Regions from separate parts of the Homo sapiens genome. Here all the other regions are linked to region 4. The links are contacts of gene promoters, found by promoter capture Hi-C in blood cells and fetal thymus (Javierre and others, 2016). All regions are on one chromosome and are shown on one strand. Each heading gives the region's core, a stretch centred on a gene start or on the middle of the fragment in contact. The rest is flanking DNA. Distances are from core to core; before and after follow the strand shown. Region 1 overlaps LOC105372529 (a long non-coding RNA gene). Region 2 has its middle 340 kb from the start of LINC00687. Region 3 has its middle 310 kb from the start of LINC00687. Region 4 holds the start of JAG1 (jagged canonical Notch ligand 1). Region 5 has its middle 350 kb from the start of LINC00687. Region 6 has its middle 410 kb from the start of LINC00687. Region 7 has its middle 290 kb from the start of LINC00687.

Evidence for each region. Contacts are between HindIII fragments. The CHiCAGO score rates a contact against its expected background, and 5 or more counts as called.
Region 1: a fragment that was not itself captured here is called in contact with the fragment with the promoter of JAG1 in region 4 in 1 of 17 cell types (erythroblasts); the score reaches 5.3 in erythroblasts.
Region 2: a fragment that was not itself captured here is called in contact with the fragment with the promoter of JAG1 in region 4 in 3 of 17 cell types (megakaryocytes, erythroblasts and endothelial precursors); the score reaches 8.4 in megakaryocytes.
Region 3: a fragment that was not itself captured here is called in contact with the fragment with the promoter of JAG1 in region 4 in 2 of 17 cell types (erythroblasts and megakaryocytes); the score reaches 5.4 in erythroblasts.
Region 5: a fragment that was not itself captured here is called in contact with the fragment with the promoter of JAG1 in region 4 in 1 of 17 cell types (erythroblasts); the score reaches 5.1 in erythroblasts.
Region 6: a fragment that was not itself captured here is called in contact with the fragment with the promoter of JAG1 in region 4 in 2 of 17 cell types (endothelial precursors and erythroblasts); the score reaches 5.7 in endothelial precursors.
Region 7: a fragment that was not itself captured here is called in contact with the fragment with the promoter of JAG1 in region 4 in 1 of 17 cell types (erythroblasts); the score reaches 6.2 in erythroblasts.

Annotation. Positions count from the first base shown.
Region 1 is chr20:11,403,583-11,407,180 of GRCh38, reverse strand. The region is part of intron 1 of LOC105372529 (a long non-coding RNA gene); the gene reads left to right. Among named protein-coding and RNA genes, the nearest start is that of LINC02871, 380 kb to the right of the region's middle. The HindIII fragment of the contact is 898 bases long and covers 1,060-1,957 here.
Region 2 is chr20:11,533,267-11,537,186 of GRCh38, reverse strand. No RefSeq gene overlaps it. Among named protein-coding and RNA genes, the nearest start is that of LINC00687, 340 kb to the left of the region's middle. RefSeq lists an enhancer at 1-213. The HindIII fragment of the contact is 547 bases long and covers 1,780-2,326 here.
Region 3 is chr20:11,555,127-11,558,523 of GRCh38, reverse strand. No RefSeq gene overlaps it. Among named protein-coding and RNA genes, the nearest start is that of LINC00687, 310 kb to the left of the region's middle. The HindIII fragment of the contact is 3,761 bases long and covers 1-3,366 here.
Region 4 is chr20:10,672,251-10,675,983 of GRCh38, reverse strand. It overlaps JAG1 (jagged canonical Notch ligand 1), which reads left to right and starts at 1,985. Exons shown (of 26, transcript NM_000214.3): 1 at 1,985-2,534; 2 at 2,978-3,283. The coding sequence starts at 2,454. RefSeq lists a silencer at 1,363-1,762. The HindIII fragment of the contact is 5,598 bases long and covers 1-3,733 here.
Region 5 is chr20:11,515,125-11,518,777 of GRCh38, reverse strand. No RefSeq gene overlaps it. Among named protein-coding and RNA genes, the nearest start is that of LINC00687, 350 kb to the left of the region's middle. The HindIII fragment of the contact is 2,643 bases long and covers 350-2,992 here.
Region 6 is chr20:11,457,424-11,461,273 of GRCh38, reverse strand. No RefSeq gene overlaps it. Among named protein-coding and RNA genes, the nearest start is that of LINC00687, 410 kb to the left of the region's middle. The HindIII fragment of the contact is 849 bases long and covers 845-1,693 here.
Region 7 is chr20:11,574,685-11,578,215 of GRCh38, reverse strand. No RefSeq gene overlaps it. Among named protein-coding and RNA genes, the nearest start is that of LINC00687, 290 kb to the left of the region's middle. The HindIII fragment of the contact is 2,970 bases long and covers 1-2,889 here.

The DNA of each region.
Region 1 (3,598 bases), core at 259-2,758, 730 kb before region 4:
CCCTTGCAAAGAATTGGCCATATGTCTAGTTCTAGTCAGCGAAATGTGAATAATAGGGATGCATGGCACTTCCGGGCTAAGGGCGTGGATTATTTATTGTTATACAGCAAATTACCATAAACATAGCAGCTGAAAACAATATGCGTGTATCATCACACAGTTTCTGGGGTTCAGGATTCTGGCCATAGCTTAACCGGATCCTCCACTTCAGAGTCACAGGGCTGTAATCAACGTGCTAGCTTGAAAAGCCCAGACAAGATCCTCCTCCAAGTTCACATGGTTGTTGGCAGCATTCAGTTCCTTGCCAGCTGCCAGACTGTGAGCCTCAGTTTCTTGCTGGCTGTCAGCTAGAGGCTCCCTCAGCAACTTGCTGTACAATTCTCTCCATATGTAGCTTGTGATATGGGAGCTTACCTCTTCTAAGCCAGAGAGTCTTCTAGCAAGGCAGTTTCAACATCTTATGAAATGTAATGACACGAAACAATGTACATTTCCTCACCTTTGCCGTGTTCTAATGGTTAGAAGCAAGTCCCCGGCTCTCCCACACTCAAGGGGGAAGAATTGTGAAGCCTGGAGGCAGGGATCACGGGACAACCCCAGACATTGTTCAATGCAAACAGTAAAGTCCACTGAGAGACATTCTGGCTCTCTCTTCTCTTTTCCTACATGATGGATGATAAAATGGCAAAGATAAAGGTGCAGGCAGACTGGATTCCCGAATCACCACCTGGAATAAGATTGTCTTGATTCTCCTGAACAGTCAGCTCACCCACAAACTCAAGGGCATGAAATCTGAGGGCTTTTGCAGTCAGATTTGGTAGAGAGAGAGACAGAGACAGAGAGAGAGAGAGAGAGAGAAAGTGACATCCATGAAACAAAAGGAAAAGAATCAAGACACAGGCAATTAAAATGAGTTGTTTGTTTAAAGATAAAAGAAAGATGGAAAGTGTGAGGATGGACGAACACTGAGTCCAAAAAGTTGAGAGCTGATAGAGGGAAAAATGAGGCTGACTGAATGCAATGAGACAGAATGAATATCAGGGCAAAAATGAAAAAGCTTGAGGTAATGAAATCCCATTTTATTATATCTTTCAATACAAAGAATTAATAAAACAACCTAAGAAATCAGCTAAAAAGAGTAACATTAATAACATGAAAAGAAATATCCATGGTGAATTTTATACTTTTGTGTTATATCAAGGTCAAAGTTAATCTTTATTTCTTCTGCTCAAAAGCCATTGCCTAATATCCAGAACAAAGAATAGTATGTTCTGGACTGGGGTAATGCAGAATTAAATAAATTGAAAGCCTAATATTCAGAATACAGTAGAATAAGAATAAATATTTTAATTCAAAAATATAACTTTTGTATAAAGTTATATTTTTGCATCATGGTCACTACTTCATTTAATGGTGATACAGAAATACCCAACTCCTTTTATTCTTCTTTTTTTTTTTTTTTTTTTTGAGATGGAGTCTTGCTCTGTTGCCCAGGCTGGAGTGCAGTGGTGTGATCTTGGCTCACTGCAACGCCCACCTCCCGGGTTCAAACAATTCTCCTGCCTCAGCCTCCCGAGTAGCTGGGATTACAGGCGCCTGCCACCACGCCTGGCTAATTTCTGTATATTTAGTAGAGATGACATTTCACCATGTTGACCAGGCTGGTATTGAACTTCTGACCTCAGGTGATCCACCCTCCTCGGCCTCCCAAAGTGCTGGGATTACACGTGTGAGCCACTGCATCCGGCTGGCCTCCTTTTATTCTTAATGATGAAAAAGCGTTGAAAAACTGGATCATAAACCAGTGGTTTACAAACTTTTACTCATCAGCTTTACCTGGAGAACTAGAAAACATGCAAATTCCTGGGTTCCACCCACAGGGATTCTGATTCAGCAGGACTGGTTTAGGGTCTGATATTCTAACCTTTCTAACAAGCCCCCAAGTAATACTGAAGCTTCTGGTCCACAGTCTGTCCACACTTTGAGTACTGTTGCTCAAATGTTATGAAGAGGCTGAAATACCTTATTTTGGCTTATTGACTCATTAAGTTAAAGACATTTGTATAGCAGCTGGTGATAAAAGATGACTTTGGCCTTCATGTTGTTCCTAAAAGCAAAAGATTTAACTCCTGTATAAGACACTCTCCCTATACCCGAAGAAAAGGCAAGATGTTTGTCTTCAAGAATGAGAAGCTGGGACTGAGAGAATACTATACAGACCTTATTAGAATAACTCCTCTTTACCGGTCCCCCACATAGTTTAGCCACATTTTCACAGTTTACTATTCTTTGTTCAATCTGGTATATAAGTAATATACTCTAATTGCTTTGGGGAGGTCTTTATTTCTTTATGAGGGTCCCCATGACACATACAACTTGTTAAATAAATTTGCATGCTTTTATCTATCTATGTCAATTTAATTCTTAGGCTCTGCTGGAACCCTAAGAGGAGGAAGTTGAAATTTTTCTGCCCCCACAGTTACATATGTCAGTTGGTTAGTAACTGAAGTTCTTCTATATTTATCCCTAAGGAAAGACTAGTTAGAATTTATACCAGAATGTCTAGTATGGTTCAAGGAACATTGACAAAAAAATAAATAAATTGTGGCTTATTTCCTAGCCAAGTGTGTTCAAAAATAATGTCCCAAAATAAAGGAATCTAGCATTTCACTTTTGATTATAATATATAATTGTAAGTTCTAAGAAGATAGGTGAAAGAGCCTAATACATTTAAGGCACTCATAAATATTTGTTGATACATGTATGAATGCAAGGCAGAAATTATGGCCTAGAAATAAAAGCATATCAAGAATTGTCATAAAAAGATAATCTGACCTATTCTGGTTCATCTTAAAAAAGTGTGGTAGTTTGTCTGCAAAAATGTCTCCAATGCTTCATGCCTTTGCAATATGACTTTGGAACTCTTTCCTATAGGAAATGGAATCTCTTTTCACTTACTCTGCTTCCCCCCAACCCCTGACACACCCCACTCTACTTGTGTCTAGTCTAGTTTGGTGACTTGCCTTGTCCAACAGAATGCGGAGGAAGTGATAATGTTTTATTTGTGATTCCAGGCCTTTGGAATCGTGTGTACTTCCACTCTCTCTTTTAACCCATGTAACACCATGTGAACAAGCCCAGACCAGCAGTGCTAGAAGATAAGAGGAGGGGTGGGCCAGAGCCCAACTGTCTCAGATAAGGCCATCCTAGACCAGCCTATAGCCAGGCAATGCCAAAAATGTGATAGATTCCAGCCAAAATCAGCAGAGCTGCCTCTCCTCACAGAGTCCACAGACGTATGAGTGAGACCAAAAAAAGCTTCTGGCTGAGACAGAGCTATGACCATAACTCATGCCTGTTGTTTTGTTTCTGAGTCTTCTTTATTACCTCTGGTAAATCTGTCTTTGTTGAATTATGTTTTTAAAAATAACTTTTATTTCAGAGTATTTTTAGATTTACAACAATGTTTCAAAGCTAGGGCAGAGTTCCCATATTTCTCATACCCAATTTCTTCTATTGTTAACATCTTATACTAACATGGTACATTTGTTTAAATGAATGCACAATAATAATGCAGTGTTATTAGCTGAAGTTCATA
Region 2 (3,920 bases), core at 804-3,303, 860 kb before region 4:
TGAAAACCTCAAATAACTTAACATCTTTTCTCCACACAGAGAGATAGCTACTTTGCTTGAAATTTCCAGGATTAGTGAATACTTAAGGGCAATTATGAAAGTCTGCACATTTGTACAGTTGAGGCATTGCTACTGAGATCTAACAAAACATTTTGCTAGGAGTATAGCTTTTATTAATCCACTCACTATCTATCGTCATCCAGCGGACAGCTAAATCCTGGAAGTTTGCACGTAAGACAGAATTTGTTTTTTTTTTTTTTTTTTTTTTTTTTTTTTTTGAGGCAGTCTCGCTCTGTTGCCAGGCTGGAGTGCAATGGCGCGATCTTGGGTCACTGCAACCTCCGCCTCCTGGGTTCAAGCGATTCTCCTGCCTCAGGCTCCCAAGTAGCTGAGATTACAGGCGCCCGCCACTGCGCCCGGCTAATTTTTGTATTTTAGTAGAGACGGGGTTTCACTATGTTGGTCAGGCTGGTCTCGAACTCCTGACCTCAGGTGATCCGCCCACCTCAGCCTCCCAAAGTGCTGAGATTACAGGCGTGAGCCACCGCGCCCGGCCAAGACAGAATTTGAAGAGAAGGAATTAGGGGAAAGTGTGGAGCACTGTGCAAATTGCTCTGGAGTGGGTAATATAGGGATGGAGAGGTCCAGGTATTTAGTAGGAAGCAAAAGGACATTGCTTCCCTGGAGACTGAGAAAGAGATCTCACATGGAGGAAGGGCAGAGGCTGATGGTTGCACCCTTTTTCCTGCAGAAGAATTTCGTCTCTGGGAAGTCCTGACTCTGCATTAATGATGGACATCAATGTTTTCAGCTGCCAGACAGGTCCATCTTCTCAATTCCTGAGATCCTAACTGTGGTTTGTCATTTTGTTTAGTGTTTCTCTGGCACTCTGTTTCTGCATCCAAATCCTAGCTGTTTCATGGCAGTATTTAGTTAGCTTTTATGATCACAGCTCTTCAAGTTTGCTTATTTTTGTGCTCTCTATTCTATAGAAAGAAAGATTCAGATGATCTTGCTCTTACAGTGGGCATTAGAGGTAAAGCCATGATGATAATTATTACTCAAAGGCCCTTAAGCTACACAGCTTCAGACAATCCTGCCTAAAAAACTTAAATATCAGAAAGCTGTGAGGAAACCTGTGCATGGCCACTGGAATTTCACAATGGTCCCAAATTTGCACCCTAAAATAACTTTCTGTGTATAGTCAGGCAGCTGATGCCTAGAATTTGTGCTCAGGAAGATTAGAGGAATGTAGCAATTATTTTTTAAAGTATCTTAGTTTGAAGGCACCCTATAGATTTGTTAAAAGTACATATGAGGAGTAAAGAGGCAGAGGAAATAGGGAGGGGCTCCAAGCTTGGAGATAAAAAAATTGCCAAGAAAGAGTCTGCCTTTAAAGAAAGGGGAATAAGGAGCAGGAAGACAGAGGAGAGAGATAATAAACAAGAAGCGTCTTCATGGTGCCCTAATGTAACACACAACAGGGGCTGGAAAGCATTGAACATTTGTTGTTAGAGAAGAAAGTAAGGCAGGAAACATTCTGAGAATGAGGATGAGCCATCTATTGCAAAGACTTCTGTGCTGTGCTCACAGGCAAATGCAAAGCAGAGCAGTCAATGGCCAGTGCTTTGACCACTCCAAATGGTCTTCTCTACCACGGTTAGTGGGCCAAGTCATTCTGGAACAGGCTTTGAACTGGTCCCTTTACATTGCCCAGAACGACCCCTGCTCATCCATTCTTGCCTCTTTGCATCTTTCTATTTATCACGCCATTAAGCTTGTAGTACACAGCCAATTCAATAGGGAGCTCCCCTAAGTATACATGTACATAAAAATTGGAATTAAAAGGAGCTACTCTCTTTGATTTGGCCCTGGTATCTTGATTGCTTTCTGTTGTGCCCATCCTGATTTTTGTCTTGGCCCTAGGCATTTGGGCAGGTACACTTTTGTGGCTGACTTGAATTCTTTTATTGCACCGTCTCCAGTGTATTTCTCATGATAATTTCGTTTAGCAGCAATTCTTAATCTTGTTCAACTTGCTTTTTAGTGACACCTGATTCTTTTGCTGATCTGGCCAGGTAACCATAACTAGCAGAGTCAAGAGACAAGGGGAGGTTGAGAAATGTTTACAAAGGTCTTGATGCCTTTTATTACCTATAGATCCTTTTGCTTCTACCTTTAGGAAGCATTTCTTCCTTGAGGTCCTCCATGTAGCTGTTGTACTCCATTGTTGCTCAAGCATTGGTACCTGACTTACTGTCTTTCTTTTCACTCCTTTTAGGCTGAACAATCATCCTGGTTGTCTTTGTTATCCATGTGGAAAGCTTCCTGACTTATTATACTCCAACAATCTCCATTCAACCCCTTGAGCCACTCTCTCTCAGGATCATACTCCAGACCTGGGCACTTGTTGGGAAATCCTAAATTTCAATTTTCAATTTCTGACCATAATTATCCCTGCATGTTTTTTTTCTTTTTTTCCCTTGCTCCCTATACATAGGTTTTCTGGATACCCTGAGAATTCAATTCCTCAACCCTTCTCTTTTTCTTCAGTGAACTCTTTCCTTCCTTTGATAGCCCACCTCTCTAGAGTGCAGTGTTTATGTTCTGTTTTTGGTTGCTTCAACATCCTCATGGCCTTGCAAATTAGCATCAATCTAGCCATTCATTATACCCTTACAAAAAATGTAGCTGATAAATGCCCCTGGAGAAAATCATTTAACTCTGTAGACCATTGTTGCTACAGATTGTGGTTTCCAATCTCCAATGAGTCTTCATTTTGGTTTGAAAGTTATTTTACACAACTAGCTTGCTTGCTTTCTCAGTAACCCACAAGGATATTTCAAATGTCATTCTCACCTATCCACCTGCTCATCACTGATGTCACTTGCAGTAGGTAGCCTTGCTTCTTTTTTACTGAAAAGACAACAAAAACTTCATCAATGTTATCCCTTTCAGTGCAGAGGAGGGAGCATCTTGTGCTGAAGCTCCACCTCTAAAATTTGCCTTGTGGGTCCTGTTCCCACCCCACATTTTCTCCATTATTTGCTCTGTTGTCTGCGTTTTGATTCTCTTTCTCCTTCTTCTTCTTCCTAACCTATAAGTACACTCGAATATATCCTATTAAAAATAGTAAAATAGAAAACCTTCCACCATCCTGTATCTTTGTTATTACCAGAATCATATTCTCTTTTTTCCTTTAGAACAAAGGTCTTTTTTTTAACTTTGTAAAGCATCTATTTTGAGTGATAATTTACATAGCATATTTTTTTTTTTCATTTTAAGTGTATAGTCCCATGAGTTTTAGTCACACAGCCACCATCCCTGCAATCTGGTTTTCAGTTCCTTCCCTCACCCCAAAACATTCTTCCTGCTCCTTAGCAGTCAGTCTTATTGCCCATTCCCAGCCCTAGGCCACCACTGATCTGTTTTAGGTCTCAATAATTTTGCCAGTTCTGGGCATTAATCACACGTGACTTTTGTGCCTAAATGTTTCCACTTGGCATAAGAGCTTTGAGATTCATTTATGTTATGCATGCATCAGTAGTCTTTTCCTTTAAATTGCTGTATAGTATTCCATTGAAGGGTTTGCCACAAGATGTTTATCCAATCCCCAGTTGATGGACTTCCCTCATTTTTAACTAATGAATAAAATTGCTACAAACATTGGTGTCTTCACCTTTTAGTCTTTGATTAATGTCTCTACATTTTAGTCTTTGAATGAGGATGAGTCATTGTTTCTCTTGGGAAGCTACTGAGGAGTGAAGTTTCTGGGCTATATAGTTAGTATATGTTCAACTTTTCTAAAAAAAAAATTTAGATTCAGCGGTACATGAGCAGATTTGTTATCTGGGTATATTGCGTGGTGCTGAAATTTGGGCTTCTATTGATCCCATTGCCCAAATAGGTAATATAGCACT
Region 3 (3,397 bases), core at 237-2,736, 880 kb before region 4:
AGCTGGCATCCCCAAATGGGTGAAAAATCTCTGCAGAAGCAATCAAGCCTTTCACAGAAGTATTTCACAGAAGGAAATGCTTTCTGTGACCTAATTTCTGCAATCATCCACCACATTCTATTTTATAGGAGTGGGCCACTAAGCCTGGAAATTAAAAAAGAGGGATCTTAAGTTTCACATTTTAAAAAGCGGAGTGACGGCCAGGCACAGTGGCTCACGCCTGTAGTCCCAGCACTTTGGGTGGATCACGAGGTCAGGAGATCGAGACCATCCTGGCTAATACAGTGAAACCCCGTCTCTACTAAAAATACAAAAAATTAGCCAGGCGTGGTGGCGGGCATCTGTAGTCCCAACTACTCCGGAGGCTGAGGCAGGAGAATGGTGTGAAGCCAGGAGGCGGAGCTTGCAGTGAGCCGAGATCGCCACTGCTCTCCAGCCTGGGCGACAGAGTGAGACTCCGTCTCAAAAAAAAAAAAGAAAAAAAAAGGGGAGTGATATAGCCACAGTAGGAAAGACTTGGAATCAACCTAAATGCCCATTGATGATAGGCTGAATAAAGAAAATGTAGTACATATACACCATGGAACACTATGCAGCCATAAAAAGGAATGAGATTATGTCCTTTGCAGGGACATGGATGGAGTTATCTGCAGCAGACTGATGCAGAAATACTGTGTGTTCTCACTTATAAGTGGGAGCTGAATTATGAGAACACATGGACACATGAGGGGGAACAACACTCACTAGGGCCTGTTGGGAGGTGGGGGGAGGGAGAACAGCAGGAAGAATAGCTAATAGAGGCTGGGCTTAATACCCAGCTAACAGGATGAGGATGAACTGTGTTACAAACCACCATGGCTCACGTTTACCTATGTAAAAAACCTGCACATCCTGCACACGTACCCCTGAGTTAAAATAAAAGTTGAAGGAAAAAAAGTGGAATGACAATTAGTGAACATATTTGAAAACTATCACATTCTGTAAATTCATATACTTTCTTGAGTAAATTCCAATTTTTTTCTTCTCAATTATATGTGCACTTTCACACTTGTACTATAAGAAGATAGAGTAGCAGAAATGAGGTGAACAGTGTTCCTCTCTTAAAATGCAAACCTACTGCATGTGCAGTAGCTATTCTCAGGAATAGTGTCCCTTTCTGTGAGATGAGGGAGAATAGAGGCTTATACACTTTTTTTCGTTGACCCTTATCTTGTTTATATACCCAATATAGCCTATCCTTTGCTCCATAGTGAGTAGGATGTTATAGTGTTGCCTTGTTTCATCTTGTCACTTAAGCAAAAATACAGACATCTCATGGTATCTGTGGGGGATTTGTTCCAGGACCCTGCAGATATCAAAACCTATGCATACTCAATATTTTTAAATAAAATGAGATCACGTTTGCATGTAACCTATATACACCCTCTTGTATACTTTAAATCTCTAGGCTACTTATAATAATCTAATACAATGTAAATCTTATGCAAATAGTTGTCATACAGTATTTTTTATTTGTATTGTTTTTTAATTGTTGTATTGTTATTTTCTATTTTCTTTTTCCCAGAGTATTCTCAATGTACAGTTAGTTGAATCTGGGGATGCAGAAAACATGGATACCAAGGATTGACTGAACATAAAAAATACTCAGGACGTTTGTTCTCAAGGACTCTTTGTAGTTTGTTCCAGTAAGAGTTGATATTGTAGTAATCACATGCAACAAATGGGAGCACTGATACTGTTCTAGACTTCCCAGCCTTGAGGAAATGACACTGACATGACATGCATCTCTGTCTCTTGCTCTGTTTATCTCCTCCCCATCCTTTTTTTCCTTCCTCCATTAATTAGGTCTAGAGTACTCACTCTGTGACACCTGCCAGGAGGGCAGACCAGCAACTCAGTTACTGTCTTTAGGTAATCACTGTCTAAAGTTGGTCCTTGAAATTTTCTCTATTGTTTGTTTAAAACATAGATTCCTGGAAGCTGTTCCAAATATACTGAATCAAAAGCTCTTGGGTGGCCATTGGCAAACCACATTGAGTAATTTGGAGGACTACTGGCTCTTGTCGGTAAAACTCAGTTCCTGTTACCATGACGATTGTTTTTGACTTGTATAAATCAATGGGTCTCAAACTTTGACAGGTAACAAATTGCTGAGCCCCATCCCTAGAGTTTCTGATTCAGTAGATCTAGGATGGGGCCTATAATTTGTATTTCTAATAAATGCCCAGCTGATGTTGATATTGCTAATTCAAGGATCACACTTTGATTAATGTAAATGCTAATTAGTAATCTTTTTTCAAAGGCAGATGTGTATTTGGTCCAATGAGGTATGATTAAAGCTCCCAGAGTCAGAAAACTTTGGAACTAAAGTAGATGTTGGAAATCATAATGTAAAAATCATTTTCTCAAAAGTTGATTAAACAAAGTTAAAAGTTTGGTAATTTTGTCTTGGTCGTTAAACAATTTAAAGCAGATACAAAAAGATAGCTGGATTCTCTGACTCCTAGTCCAGTTTGCTCTCTATTGATCATCCTACCTAAGAAAATCTTTATGTATAGTCATGAACTGCATAATGAAGTTTAGGTCAACAATGGACCACACATATGATAGTGGTCCCATAAGATTATAATACGGTGTTCTTACTGTACCTTTTCTATATTTGGATATGTTTAGATACACAAATGTTTACCATTATGTTACAATTGCCTACAGTATTCAGTACGTAACATGTTGCACAGGTTTGTAGCCTAAGAGCAATATACTCTACCATATAGCCTAGGTGTGTCATAGGTTATACATCCAGGTTTATGTAAGTACATTTTATGATGTTCACACAATGATGAAACTGCCTAACTATATATTTTGCAGAATGTATTCTTGTTGTTAAGTGACATATGACTGTGTGTACTTCTGAAGCCAACTTATTGAGTTATAAAGGGTAATCATGCCAGCTTAAATCAATAAAAGTCAGAGAGAGTGATGAAATTAGATGTTTTCATAAAACTGAATAAAAACAACAAGAAGTCATTAAAGAGGATGTTGAAAGACTTGTTTGGCTCTTTTGGGTATCTTAGTTAAATTGTCAGAGGAACAATTTCTTTTTATGAGACATTAAGAAAAGTACTGACATGTGAAGCTATTACACATATAGGCTGTAGTTTTGCCTGCAGAGCAATTGCCAAGAAAAATATTAACATAGAAATTGATAGTCTGAGAGTATATGATAGTGACATTTCATATAAATATTTAGCACATGACCCCATGAGGCAAAAATACAGGACAAACTTATAATCTGTGTGGCTGCGTAGACCCTAGGGCTATGTAATGACTATGTCCAGCTTGTTGCTGACTAAATAAAAAGAAGCTTGATTCATCACAGATGAGCAATAATTGTCTT
Region 4 (3,733 bases), core at 736-3,235:
TTTGTATTTGTAGTAGAGACCGGGTTTCACCATGTTGACCAGGATGGTCTCAATCTCTTGACCTCGTGATCCACCCGCCTCGGCCTCCCAGAGTGCTGGGATTGCAGGCGTGACCCACAGCTCGCGGCCCATTTTACTTTTAAACCGTTATTTAGCACCCAAACTCAGGGATACTTGGGAGTAGAAATTAGAACGGGACAGATAAGTGGGGAGACTGGTGTTGATGGAAACCTCAGTGAGAAAAGTGTAGATGGGATTACAGTTGACAACTGGTTGCCTTGATTTAGGATAATTGGGGAAAGGGAGGCTGGGGCACATTGAAACACCCAGGTTGTCGCTGCCTACCCCAGCTGCTAACATGACCAGCTGTAAACTTGCTCTGTTCTTAGAAACCTCCCTTCCAAAACATGGATTCTCCCGCCAGTGCTCAAGATGGGACACATTACCACTAAGTAAGCACTTTTCTTAGGAGCATTTCTTAGGCTGTTAAAATGCCAAGACTCCTAACCATCCTTGGTAGCTTTGAACCTATGTAAAGAGGTCAGTTAGCTGCCCTAGTTTATTCCTCAGAATGATGAGATTTGGCACTGAAAATATTGTTCATACTGAGCCTCCCATCAAATGCAATAAGTAGATAACCACAAATACCCACCCTTTTATGCTCATAACTCAGCATGTTGGAAACTATTTTCCCTTGACCTATTGCCAGCCCATCACGCCCCACACCCAGGAGAACTCAAGCCCCAAACCGGCCGCTGAATAGTCACGCTTTTCTGCAGGACATACCTACTATTAGGGCCAAAACTTTGTCCACCCTTCAAAGGAAGTCGATGTTTCCATATAAAGGTCCCCTCAAATGCAACAGCAAGCCCGTGGGAGAGGGGTTAGCAGAGGCTACGGCCAGCCCACGGGCTTTCTTCGACCTTGATTATGACCAGGAGTGTAGCTGTTAATTGCGAGGCTTGCCTCAAGGTGGAAAACAGTATCGGTTTCCACTGCCACCCCAGAGAAGGCAAGTTCCGCGGCTGGCGGTGCTGGGGACACGGTCCCTCCCAGGCCCATCTCTTGCCACCCAGAGAGCTGCTCGGAGGCCGCCTACAGGTGCAATCCCGGCACTGCGGCCGGGGCGTCGGGCCGGGGAGGGCGTCCAAGCCCACCAGCATCTCCGCCGGCCCTTCCCAAAGCCTGAACAGGGCCCCGGCGTGCCCGCCGCCTTCTACCCCCGGTTTCCCCGCGCCTCTGCCCCGGCGCGGTTTGGATAGGAAGCTGGGAGCCCTCCCAGGCTCCGCAGACTCGGATTTGGGAGGGGGTGGGACGCGGCCGAGGCTTCCCCTCGAATCTGCGGCAAGCCTGGCTCCAGGAAAGTTTTTCAAAGTTCCCAGCAGCGTCTGCCCAGGTCGCCTCCGCGGGGCGAGCAGACGGCGGCAAGCGCGCCAGCCTCGCCGCCGCCTCTGCCGCCAGCAGAGCGCTCTGGGCGGCTCGCTCGCGGGAAGCGGGCCGAACTCCCGGCGGGCAGGCAGGCCCTCCTCCCGGGGCGAAAGCCGCAGCTGACGCAGGCGGTTCGGAAGGCGGAAGCTGCCCCGCTCCGACCGCTCAGTCAGCGCCGCGGCGCCTACACCTGGGGCCCCGACGCGCGGGCAAAGGCGCACGGCCCGGGGCGCCCGAGGGGGCGGTCCCCGCTGGGGGCCTCCAGGCGTCCCTGAGCAACGATCCCTTCCAAGTACCTCCCCGCACTCTCCCTTCCCTCCTGGCCCGAAGCTCCCGAGGGCGGGGGTTGGTGTGGGGCCCTGGTTCTTCTACGCCGCCCTGAGCATCCCGCTGCCCCCAACCCCTTCCAAGTTCCTCCTCGCACTACCCCCTCCCCAGCAACGTGAAGGGGAGGGGCGTGCCCAGGGTGAGCACGCCCTCTCATGAATATTAATAAGCGCGCATGCGCCCTGCCCGGCGTGCTGGGTAGAGGTGGCCAGCCCCGGCCGCTGCTGCCAGACGGGCTCTCCGGGTCCTTCTCCGAGAGCCGGGCGGGCACGCGTCATTGTGTTACCTGCGGCCGGCCCGCGAGCTAGGCTGGTTTTTTTTTTTCTCCCCTCCCTCCCCCCTTTTTCCATGCAGCTGATCTAAAAGGGAATAAAAGGCTGCGCATAATCATAATAATAAAAGAAGGGGAGCGCGAGAGAAGGAAAGAAAGCCGGGAGGTGGAAGAGGAGGGGGAGCGTCTCAAAGAAGCGATCAGAATAATAAAAGGAGGCCGGGCTCTTTGCCTTCTGGAACGGGCCGCTCTTGAAAGGGCTTTTGAAAAGTGGTGTTGTTTTCCAGTCGTGCATGCTCCAATCGGCGGAGTATATTAGAGCCGGGACGCGGCGGCCGCAGGGGCAGCGGCGACGGCAGCACCGGCGGCAGCACCAGCGCGAACAGCAGCGGCGGCGTCCCGAGTGCCCGCGGCGCGCGGCGCAGCGATGCGTTCCCCACGGACGCGCGGCCGGTCCGGGCGCCCCCTAAGCCTCCTGCTCGCCCTGCTCTGTGCCCTGCGAGCCAAGGTAGGAGCCCTTCTCCGGGCCTCCCTCCCAGCCGTCCTCTCCCTCCCCTCGCGGCGCCCTGGGCGGTTGAGCCCCGCGAGCAGGCTCGGCAGCCCTCGAGCGCCCGACTCCTCGCCCCTGCGCCCGAGCGGCTGCACCTGGGCTGAGCGCGCCAACTCCCCCACGGGAGCCCCTGCCTCCTGAGGGTGACCCCTCCAGGCCGGACAGGGGCGCGTTCGCTCCGCTGTTGCCCCCCGGGAAGTCGTCGGATTTCTTCCGCACTCGTGCATTTTTTTTTTTTTTTGCCCCGGAATCATGTTGAGTCCTTGAACGTAGTTTCGCAAAATTATTTTCACTCGGCGAGGAGGGCTCGTCGGGGCGGGGAGTGGGAGGGAGTCGCCACCTCTATACTCGAAGAAAACAGCTTTCTCCCGCGCTGACCTACCTCCTTCCCTCGCCGGCAGGTGTGTGGGGCCTCGGGTCAGTTCGAGTTGGAGATCCTGTCCATGCAGAACGTGAACGGGGAGCTGCAGAACGGGAACTGCTGCGGCGGCGCCCGGAACCCGGGAGACCGCAAGTGCACCCGCGACGAGTGTGACACATACTTCAAAGTGTGCCTCAAGGAGTATCAGTCCCGCGTCACGGCCGGGGGGCCCTGCAGCTTCGGCTCAGGGTCCACGCCTGTCATCGGGGGCAACACCTTCAACCTCAAGGCCAGCCGCGGCAACGACCGCAACCGCATCGTGCTGCCTTTCAGTTTCGCCTGGCCGGTGAGTGACTACTCGGGAAGGAGGCCGGGCGGAGCCTCACACCCGCGCCTGGCCGAGCCCTGTTATCCCTTGCGAGAGGGATTTAAAGGGCTTTGGCTTGAAACTAGGCGCTAACTGGGGAAATCTCTAGGGGTGGCGGGTGAGGGAGCCGGGACACTATAGTTAGATCTCGGCTGGGGTAGTCGAGGTGGGTCCCATTCCTGCTGCTATTTGCTTAGTGCACAAAAGTGGGGATCCCAGAGGGTTTATGGGACCAGGCTCCTAGGAAGGCCGGTGTAAACTTGCAACTTGAAGTTCCCAGAGTAACTCTCCCGGCCCCAAGCCAAGAGATCGTTGTAGCTGATCTCTTTGCTTAACTAATTAAACCTGGTGCGCCGTGGAAGGCGACTCGGCGCAGTTCTGGCCTGCGAACGCCGTCCAAATTGGCAACCTCCCCTTTCCCGTGAACGG
Region 5 (3,653 bases), core at 422-2,921, 840 kb before region 4:
GTCACTTGTAGTTTTTCAGCTCTTCAACAAATTTCACTTCTCCTCTAACTACTCTGTGTAGGCCAAGGCCTATCATCTATTTCCTGCTCGCTTGTTTTCCTTGGTCAGTCAACTGGGCCTTGGGTGGTGAGTTATGAACTGGTGGAGTGGCTCCTCTGGCCTCTTCAGACACTGAGGGGCTTTCCACGCTGGGTACGCTGTTTTTCACTCAGGGTTCTACATTCTTTTTGGCTCATACCCTTTTCTAACAAGTGCTTTCAACTGTGAGGGCTCCATCATCCCACCCTACATTCAACTTCTATTCACTTCTCTCATATCCCATACTTCTGGAAGACCACAGAAGGAAGCTTTCTATATTCCCTTAAGACTAAGTTGAGAGCCTTTTCTATGTGTTACCAATACACCTGTGTTAGCTTTGTAGTAACACTTAATTCTCTGTATTTTAGGTCCTAGTTGACCTGTATGTCTCCTCGTTAGACCGAAAGTTGTTTGAAAGCCTGAGACTACTGGTTCCCCAGTGTAAGCACAATGCCTTAATAAGCATTGCATAACTAAATATAAGAAAGAAGGAGCAAATGATGGTATTAGTCTAAAATATTGGAGGGAGTTAAAAAGAAATTATTTAGGCAGATAGTGAGGGTAAGAGAGTCGTTGGTAAGGTTTTCCTTTTAATAAAAAGCAGCCCCCAAATCATTTCTTTTCTAACAAAAAGCAGCCTGCGAAACTGAGCTGCAGACATAGATAAGCCTTGCAGGGGTGAATGTCAGCAGCTGTGTCAATAGGAAAAGGCTACCTGGGGACTAGGCATGTTCAACATGGTGGCTCCATCTTTCCTTTTTCTTGACAACCACGTGTACAGTAAGGAACAGACAACATGGCGCCGGCCAGGTAGAGACCCCATCTGCATAATAAAAGATTAGGGTGGGGTGACCAGCTTTGCACACTATGTAAATGGTACACCTGGTCCAACCAATCTTTGGGTCCTATGTAAATCAGATACTGCCTCTTCAAGCTCATCTATAAAACCCCAGGCATTTCGCCACAGAACCAGAAGATCCCCCGCTTCACATCCCCGCCATATGTCTCACTCTGCAGGAGAGGAAGCTATTCTCCGTTTTCATTCTTTTGCCTATTGAGCTTCTGCTCTTAAACTCACTTCTTGTGTGTCTGCATCCTCTATTTTCCTGGTGTGAGATGATGAAACTCAGGTATTTATCCTAGACAGGAACGCCGCTTCAATTCTAAACCTTCGGATGACTCCTCTTAAACCTTGACAATAACTTATGCTGTAAGTCAATGACAATGAATAAATCACAATAGGCCTTTCCAACTTACCCAGAACTAAATACAAGGAGTACACAGAGTATGTGGGCATAAAGTGACCTTTAAAGACATATTTAGAAATAATTAAATATTTTCAAAAGTTTCATTTTCTTTCAAAAAGAGCTAGATTTGTCCAGTGTAGAAGAGGCTGTCTCTAGTTCTATTGAGTTTCTGATCACTGGAAGTGTATAGGCAGTTGCTGGACAAGGGTGTCTATTAGAAGGTCTGAAAGTAGAATCTGGCCATAGTTGGGATCTACCTGCAGCACTAAGATGGGTGATTCTTAAGGGTCTGTCTCATGTCTGCTGTCTGCTGAGGCGTACACTCTGCCCAAAGGCACAGAAACATAATGAAATATTCTTCTGTTCCACCTATCAAACCTCACCAAGCACTTCTCATTGGTGGAATACAAGTGGGAACTCTGCAGGCACAGCAGGCTAGGAAGTGCTGTTTGCAGGACTCTAGCTCCCACAACACAGAGGAGAGAACTGAAAAAATTAGCAAGATCCTTAGAAAGAGATACAAAAAGAGAGGTCTCTGGGCCTTCCAGAGTTGTATCCACATGCCAGTCAATATTGCATCTTTAGCTATGGAGGCTTAAAGTTTTTGTAGCTCCTCTCCATGCTACCAGAAGATCTTGGAGAGTCAGAAGTCTTACCTTAGGCCTTTTCTCTGCCTAACAATGGCACACAATTATTCTAATCTAAGGAAATTCAAAGAGGAAACACGATAAGACGTTTGGAGTTTTCTTTCTACCTAGGTTTCCATTATCTCACCACACCCAGATCATAAGGGCATATAGGCTGGGCCACTTATTAGTTTGATCTCCTCTGAATCACTCCACAATTCTCCTATCAGCATATGAAAAATTTGCATGCACTGCTGGGTAGCAGGAAACTGTATCACATTATATCCTGAATCTTTCTTCTTCCAAGACTAAAAAATAAAATCCAACTCCGGGAGTTCCAAAATAACACTCTCCGAGCCCAGTGGCCTGTGTGCATGTCCTGTCAACTTTGAGTTCAGTGATGTCACATTGGTAGGCTGAAATCAGACATGATGGGAATGTTTACAACACAGAAATCATAAGTGCTACAAATTATGGCCTTTTTTCTTTTTAAAGAGTTGCTTATTAGCTAAACACTTACTAGCATAGCATACTGTTGTCTATTTTGAAACTCAGACCTGAGCGATGGAGGCAATACTGTTTTTGTTTCTGCTGGGGATCTGCCTTCTTCCTAAGACAATGGCTGCCTCAGCTGTCGTGGCCAAGATAGGTAACTTGACTGGGAGCAAACAACATATTGGATAATACGCCAAAATCTTATCCAACAACAACTAATTTTCATTTGGTGCCTTATTGAAAGTGCATACTAACATGCCTCCATCTCTCTATCTCTAATTTTTAATGAATGAAGAACTATATGACAGATAAACAAACTGCCAAAGTTCCCTTGATTAATTGTTGCCATTGCCAAGAACCCAGCAAGGCTCATCTGACATCAAAGTCTGGGATCCTGCTACTCCTGCGGCTCCCCTGCACACTGGTCAATGAAGATATTACATTTCTGCAGGTATAGAATTCCCAGTGTCCTCAGAAACTCTTTGCTGTACTTAGCAAAACCATGCTTTCCACTTCTAAAAACCTAGAGCTGAAAACGATTAAGCTTTAGTATAGAGCTACAGGAAACACTTGAATGGCAATTTGAATCTGAAATACTTTTCATTGGAAAATAACTGATTTAAAAGTTCTCCAACATTTGAGGTTGCTGGTCTTAGGCAGCGGAGAAATTTATGAAACCCAGGAAGGAGCAACACAGGCATTAGACATTTTTGCATATGTGGAAATATGCAAAAAAAAGAAAGAAAAAAAGCCCTTAATATTTTGTTGTGACTGATAACAAAGTAAGCCTTGAGAATGGTTTTAATATCAAATGCAGTACATCCTAGTAATATAGGGTTACCAGATTTAGCAAATAAAAATACTGGACACCAAGTTCAATTTGAATTCCACATATACAATAAATATATTTTTAAATATAAGTATGCCTCAAATATTAAATGAATCTTACCTGGCAACCCTAGAGTAATAGTATATTTGCTTTCTTCTTTCTGCCAACTAATGGCTGATATTGATACAATTTTCCATCATCTGTGCTACCAAGATAGCCTAAAAAAATTTGGTTTACACATTTTAGTTAAAATATAAGGTCAGTATTTATGCAAAGATCTGGAGTCCATTTTTCTTTGTCATGCTTCTATGTAATTTATACTTTTTCCTTTATTAAAAATTCAGAATTAAGAAAACCAAAGTTATTTTACAGTTAAAG
Region 6 (3,850 bases), core at 20-2,519, 790 kb before region 4:
TCTACTTCTAGGGAACTTGTGCTCAGATCTCAGAGCCACACAGCTCTTCCCTGGGATTCAGGCATTGCTGCCTGAGACTATTCCCAGGTTTTAAAAGTCTTCATAACTCTCTAAGCCTCTCTGTATTCAGGAAGCTTCATGGAGTAGAGGGAGGCAGCCACCTACTGCCTCAAAAATGTGCGGGAACCCTTTAACTCTGGTGACAAATTCAGGAAATGGGGCTTGGTTGCTAAGTGGCAACCCTCTAGACCCCAGGCTGGCAAAGCAAATGAGGGCTGAGCAATGCTCTAAGATAGTAAATCTCTGGTCTGGCCCATCATTAGACAAAATCGTCACTGGAGATGACATATCGAGGGTAGGAGTCACTGGTGGTAGACTGTGGAACCACAAAGTCAGGATATCTATGTGAGGAAAGTACTAGAAGCTGGAATGCAAACATCAGACCCCCATCTACTTCTTTCTACTCCTGCATTGCTGCAAGAAAGTCTCTTCATAAGAAAGTCAGATGAAAACCAGCAAGCGCCTTTGAGGGAGGCTGGATTATATTTCCAAAGGCCTGGAAGGTGAGAGGATTCATGAGCATAAAGCACAAGTGAGTGCTGAAGAAGGACCTCACCTAGGAACCACTTCCATCCTGGCTTGAGAAGGAGGAGATGGAGGCAGAGATGAGATTGTGTGTGAAATGCAATAGGCGGCAGTGTGGGGAGGTGGCAGATCCGCAGAGAGAAAAGCAACCATAGAGTGTGTCTAAGGAGGAATTGTAGGCTGCCTCACAAAGGGTTGATGGAACCCCAAGCATACCGTAGAAACAGCAGAGACACTGGCCAGGGGAATTACAGAAGCTTAGAAGGTGGGCTGCTGAGACACATCCTGTGTGGGCTGATGAATGAAGACCAGACAGCCCCCCATCTCTCTCACAGTGCCTGAGGAGGCCTTAAAACAAGGACTCTGGAGCCTAAGGCCTGGGTTCAAATATTAGCTCAGATATTTATTATCTGTTTGTCCTTGGGGAGGTCAGTTTTGACATCTCTGAGTCTGTCTTCTCATCTGTGGAATAGACATAATAGTACCTACCTTCTAGAACGATAAGCGTCAACTGCTTTGTCTACATAAAGTATATAGAAGAGTCTGTGAATTAAAGGCTTTTGCACTGCTTAAGCTCCCAGAACTCTGACACTGCTATGGCTTGAACTGTTTTCCCAGCTCAGAGAAGTGAGGTCTTAGAGACATACTTTACACTGAAAAAAATTAAATTTTATTAGTGAATCAATTCATAGCCACCACAGGAATTTTCTACCAAAGATGCATCCACCTAAATTGTCTTGGGTTTCACTGTAACTTTATTTTCATTTTTTATCCTCTAGCTTATTACCTTCAATAGTTTTTTTTAAATATTTCTTTGAGCTTCCATATTAGATGAAGACAGAGACAGAGAGAGAGGACTCTCAAGCAACTTCAGTTTCTCAGGGAAAGCCCATGAATTGATGTAATCTAAAGAAAGCAATAATGCTGTTTACTGCCCAGCAAGGAAGCTGTTTACCACAAGGAAGTGAAGACGACTAGAGTGGGAAACAGGAAACTGAAAAGAGGAAATGGTTTACAAGTCCCCAGAAAATACACACAGATGGAAATTGATGAACAGTGACAATGGAGAAGGATGCCCCAGGCAACTCTGCTTCCAAAAGTTAAAGCTTCCATCCAGTCAGTACTTAGTTCTCTCTGTTGTTTCTACATTCTTAGTGTGATCTTGCTAATATTTAAAAGGTAAATCTAAACACTTCAGAATCTTCACAATTCTACTGATGATCAGCAACTGAATGACTCATGTGAATTTCAATTCTGCTAAAAGATGCAATCAACAGAAACTCTGAGAAACATGCAAGGAAGAAAACTCTAAGGACTTGTTAGAGATTTTACAAGCCCAAACTAGGCTCCTTTTAATTTTTTCTTTTTCCTTTTGCATGATCATGAGCCGGTCCAGAGCAAGGAGCAGAACCCAAAGTTCACACATATATTTATTTAGTTAGCAAGACATTCCTATTTTTATAGCTCAAAGTTCTTAACTTTCTTGTTAGCAAATGTTAACAAGGTTTAAAATGCATAAAGTGAGCTGTGGCATGTAAAAAATTTTGGCCTATTCTGGCTCCTTCTTTTTTTATACTTATGTTCAATGAAAATGTCCTACTGACAGGCAGAATGTCTGGGCAACTTTATAGATAGTGTTCCCACCTCAGGGCCACAAGGTCACAGATTCGTTCCTGATTCTATTTAAAAAACACTCAACAATGGTAAGTTTGTGTGTGCTTTTATGAGCGGGAGCTGTTTTATAGAACCCAAAATCTTAAAGATACTCCAAGGAATCTTGCATGTATGCTGGGCTGTGAATTGGAAAAGCTGCAATATGGGGCTTGCTGCAGAATTGGAGAGTTTCATGGAATCATGAGCAAAGACTGACTATAATAATTCTCAGACATCGTGTCTACACAAGGCCAAAAAGCAGTTTGTTTTCATGGTGGCAATCAAAGCGCTTGAAAGGCATTTCAACCTGCTGTTCCAGCGTCAGTTTACCAGTGAGTGGTCATAAAATGAAACAAGGCAGAGGGAGTAAAAAAGAAAAGAAAGGAGAAAAAAGCAGACCCCACTCAAATCTCACAGACATTTTATAACTATTTTAGACACTGCAGGCCTTTCCTTCTGGGTAGTGCATAAATACGGCTTCTGAGAAGTCGCCGGTAGAATCCCCGAAGGCCCCCTAAGTATAGAAGTGAAATAACCGTCAACACCGTAATGAGCAAACATAGGGGCACTTCTAGCAGAAGGGGATTAGGAAATAGCTCAGTTGGTGGCTACCATAACTTTCTGAAACATGTTGACAAAAAAAACAGAACAATTCAGATCTGATTATCTACCTGGGTTCAACTGCTGTGGGACCAGAGACAGTGGATTATCCTTTCTGAGTCTCTGTGTTGTTCCCTCTGAAATGAGAGAAAAGGGCAAAGTTTTCTTAGAAGTGAAAACATTTACCTTTCACAACTTCAAATGGAATAGGTAACTTGAAATGTGGCAATTATCCATCGTTTTGTGTAAATGATGTACACATAAGTGTCTCTCCCACCCAAGGCTGACACTCAGCCTGTGGTGTAGATGGCTCCCATAGAATGGTACACATGGTGGTCCTGCTCCCACCGCTGAGAAAGAATATTGGGTTCCAACACAGTGGTGGCCTCTTCTACCTATGGCTTGTGAAATCTAAGGATATACACTGTCTCACAACTTGCTTTTCACATATATTATAATCTGGATCAAATTTCAGATGTGTGTGTGTGTGTGTGTCCACAAAACTGAGAAGCTGTTAACCTTCAGGGAGCTTACTCTTCAACTTGCCCCCCATCTGTCTGATCCTACTCCTCTATGAAAAGCAACCGTCTCCAAACTATTTCTAGTTCTATTTCCCTCCTCACAGCACACATGTAAGTTATTGACTTTCCTTCCTCTAAAATTCTGTTTTTCAAACATGCCTCTATACAGTCACTGCAAGTAATTATTACACCTTTTTGTCGAATAACCACAAAGCCACATTTTTGTGGTAAGTGCACAGTAACAGCAAAATGACCTCTTAACTTCATCTCTGAGCCCGTTTCCAAATCTCCGGCAGCATTCCAACACTACAGTGGTGTATATTAAAAGATAGGAATTAACTAGATTTGGAAAGTCTCATTCAGAGAGATCATGGGAAAGATAAATGACTGACGCCTGTCAGGAAATGGCAGGATTCACTTTTAGAATATTTCATACAGAATACTCTAGACTAACTTGCAGGGCTTTGGCATAATTAAGGGAAGTTACTAAA
Region 7 (3,531 bases), core at 155-2,654, 900 kb before region 4:
CTAAATTTGGGATAGTTTGTTACACAGCATTATATTGTATACAGCAGACTGAGGCATCTTTTCATTCTTTTTGCTCAGTACATCTCCAAGCTCCTTGTGGTGCTTTGAATATTAAGGTTAGTTAGCCTTTTATATTTATTCCTCCTTGTTTAGAACTAAGAGACATTTCTTTTTTTTTTCTTTTTTCTTTTTTTTTTTTTGGAGACGGAGTCTCGCTCTGTGGCCCAGGCTGGAGTGCAGTGGCACAATCTCGGCTCACTGCAAGCTCCGCCTTCCGGGTTCATGCCATTCTCCTGCCTCAGCCTCCGGAGTAGCTGGGACTACAGGCGCCCGCCACCAAGCCCGGCTAATTTTTTGTATTTTCAGTAGAGACGGGGTTTCACCATGTTAGCCAGGATGTTCTTGATCTCCTGACCTCGTGATCCACCCATCTCGGCCTCCCAAAGTGCTGGGATTACAGGGGTGAGCCACCGTGCCCGGCCTAGAGTTAAGAGACGTTTCTATACTATGGCTCCAATTCAACATGGAACAATTTTCATTTGAGAATATGATTCAGCATTTATACTACAGGTTGGTGTAAAAGTAATTGCAGGTTTTGCGATATTTTAATTGCACTAACCCATATATTTCAAGGATCAGACAGATAGACAATAAACTATTAAAAACGCAGAAAAGTAATCTGCACCTGGAGAGGTGCAAATAATACATTGTGATTGTTACTTAAGCTGCCTTTTACATAAATTGTTTGATTTTAATAGATGGAAAAGGGGAGAAAGATGTTTTCAGTGGGAAGAATATTAATTTATCCAGTTTTTATTTATTTTCCCATCAAACACACGTTTTAAAAGTACTTTCAATGAACCAGTGTTAGTGATATAGTGGTAAAGAGCACAGTCATGATGTCAGGCTACTGGGCATGACAGGAGGAAGAAATAGACAAGGGCGGGATAGAGACCAAGTCCTCTGCATGAGACAGGGTCCAGTTCAGAAACAGGGGCCTTCCTCAACCTGAGAAAGCTGGTTAAAAACAAAACTAAACAAAACAAAATAAAACAAAATAAGGGGCTTAGTACTGAACAACATTGTGTCCAAAGACCTTTGCAGCTTCAGTGAGAAGTAGGAAACCATTGCTATTGTGTGATCTGACCCAGAAGAAGTTCTGTTCCAGGTAATTGTCCAACCCACGAGGCAGGCTGGATATAAACTGGTATTAGGAACTTTTCATGTAACTGGCTTCTCTGGAAAAACGAATGGGGAAGAGCTTTCTTTCCCAGGGAAGAAAATTTGCCAGGAGATCTGCAGGACACTTGAATCCAAGTCATTTTCGGTTGGTGACTGACTGGCTTTGTGTTGGGATACAGGGAGAGAAAGGAGTTAAAAGGGACACAGAAGTTTTTAGTTTTGATTTTTGATGTATAACATTGAACAAAATATTTGAAGGAATTGGGGAAAAGAACAGTGAAGTTTATCTATGTCGACCATAATGCTATATAAGAAACCACCCTAAAATTTTATGGCTTAGTACAATAACCATTTATTATTTTTCAATAGTTTATAGGTTGGCTTGGTGGTCCTGCTGGTAGAGGCCCAGTTAGCTGATTTCAGCTGGGCTGGCTCATGCCTCTGTTTTCAGCTGCAAATCAATAAGGTCAATTTGCAGTTTCACTTGGGCTCACTCATATACCTGAGGACTTGGACAAGACAAGTGGGCTTCATGAGGTCTGTATCATCCACCAGGCTATTTTGGGCTTATTCATATTTTGGGCTTTATTCATATTTTGGGCTTATTCATATTGATATGGCAATACGGACAGGAATCCCAGAGAATGAGCAGAACACACAGGACTTCTTGAGACCAAGGCCTGAAACTGGCTTATGCCACATTTGCCACATTCTGTTGGCCAAGTCAAGTTGGAGACCTGCCCAGACTCAAGAGTTGGAGAAGTAGATTTGGCTTCTTAATGGAGGAACTGCAGGTGACATTGCACAGGAGCATGGACACAGGGAAAGGAGGAATACTGGGTTACTTTTGCAATAACATTACCATAGTGACCAATCATTTCCATCCCTATTTTATAGCAAGCACTGTGCTAGGGACTTTACCAACTTGGTCTCATCAATGATCAGAGCAATTCTACTGGATGGGGAAAATGAGACATGGAGACATTAAACTTGTGTACAATCACACAGATATTAAGTGGTAAATTCAGGTAGTAGTTCTGATGCTCTGTAAAGCATAACTTCTTTCTACTCTTTCTCACACTGCTTCCTGCAATTACTGGTCCCCCAGTCGTTTACCACTTGAAACAGAATCAGTTCTACCACAGCAGGAATCTGAAGAGTCAGGTGAGGTTATATGGTCTGAGATTGCCATAGTTGTCAAGGCTCACGCTGGGAATGCTTGATGGGAATGAAGGGCTGACTGCTTGGAATTAACCTTTTATAAGGGAGTGGTTACCATCTGAAGGGGCAGGATTCCAAATCATCAGGTCCAAGGAGGCCTAATGAACTCTGTTTCCAAGGGGTCAACACTTGTAAGAGAGTGGGAGATGAGACTATGACTTCTAGGCAGGACAATCTTTGTCCTCAGGTGGGATGCCTACATCATAGCATAATGCCCTGTGGTTGATGTCAAGGGAGCTAACCCTATGATCTATACTAGGGAAAGGGGTTGCAGGCAGGAGGGTAGAGGTTTGCAGTTCCCTGGCTAACTGGGGTTTCCTGAGTGGAAATTGGGAAGAGAATTGTAAGTTGATGTGTGCATGGACATTTCCTGTTTTGTTTTGTTTTGCTTTTTGCCTTGAACAATATCTGGTACATGTGGACATGAAGTAAATATTTGTTGAGTCATAAAGATGAGGATATAACTAGAGGACTAAATATCAAGCTTATGAGACAGGAGGTAATATAACTTCAGACATTTTCTAGACCCTCGTTGGAAAAAGCAGGAACGCTTCACCTATACATCAAAGCTTCTCATTCACCGATTTAGAGACCAGCACTTATTCTCAAAGTTTCTCCCATAAACTATCAGATAAACAAGAATTTCTGGTGTTGGCGTTCTGCAGCTTTCACTTCAAGCAAGCTTTCTAGTGATGTCTACTAAAGATCTAGACCCTCCATCTTTGGCAAAACTGAACTTACAGGTAGAAAGTTATTGTTATCCACTAGACCAGTGTTATTCAAAGTGAGACTGTGTAGTAGCATCAGCCTCAACTGGTTCTGGAGTAGAGAAATTCATTCTTGGTTCTACCCAAGACCTGTTGAATGAGAATATATAAGGCTGATGCCCAGGAATGTGTTTTTTAATAAGCTCTCTAGATAATTCTTACATGTGCTAATGTTTGAAAAGCCCTGAGCTGAAAGAGACTGAAGAGCACTCAGTGATATTCTTAGTAATAAGTCAGGTTTCTTTGACTTTGCTCTGCTATTGGGATATCATAGGACCTGAAATTGATCATCCATGGCAGAAACATTGTTGTATGTTTGACCGAGGAGTACAGAAAGATTGGCACATATCTGAACAGACTG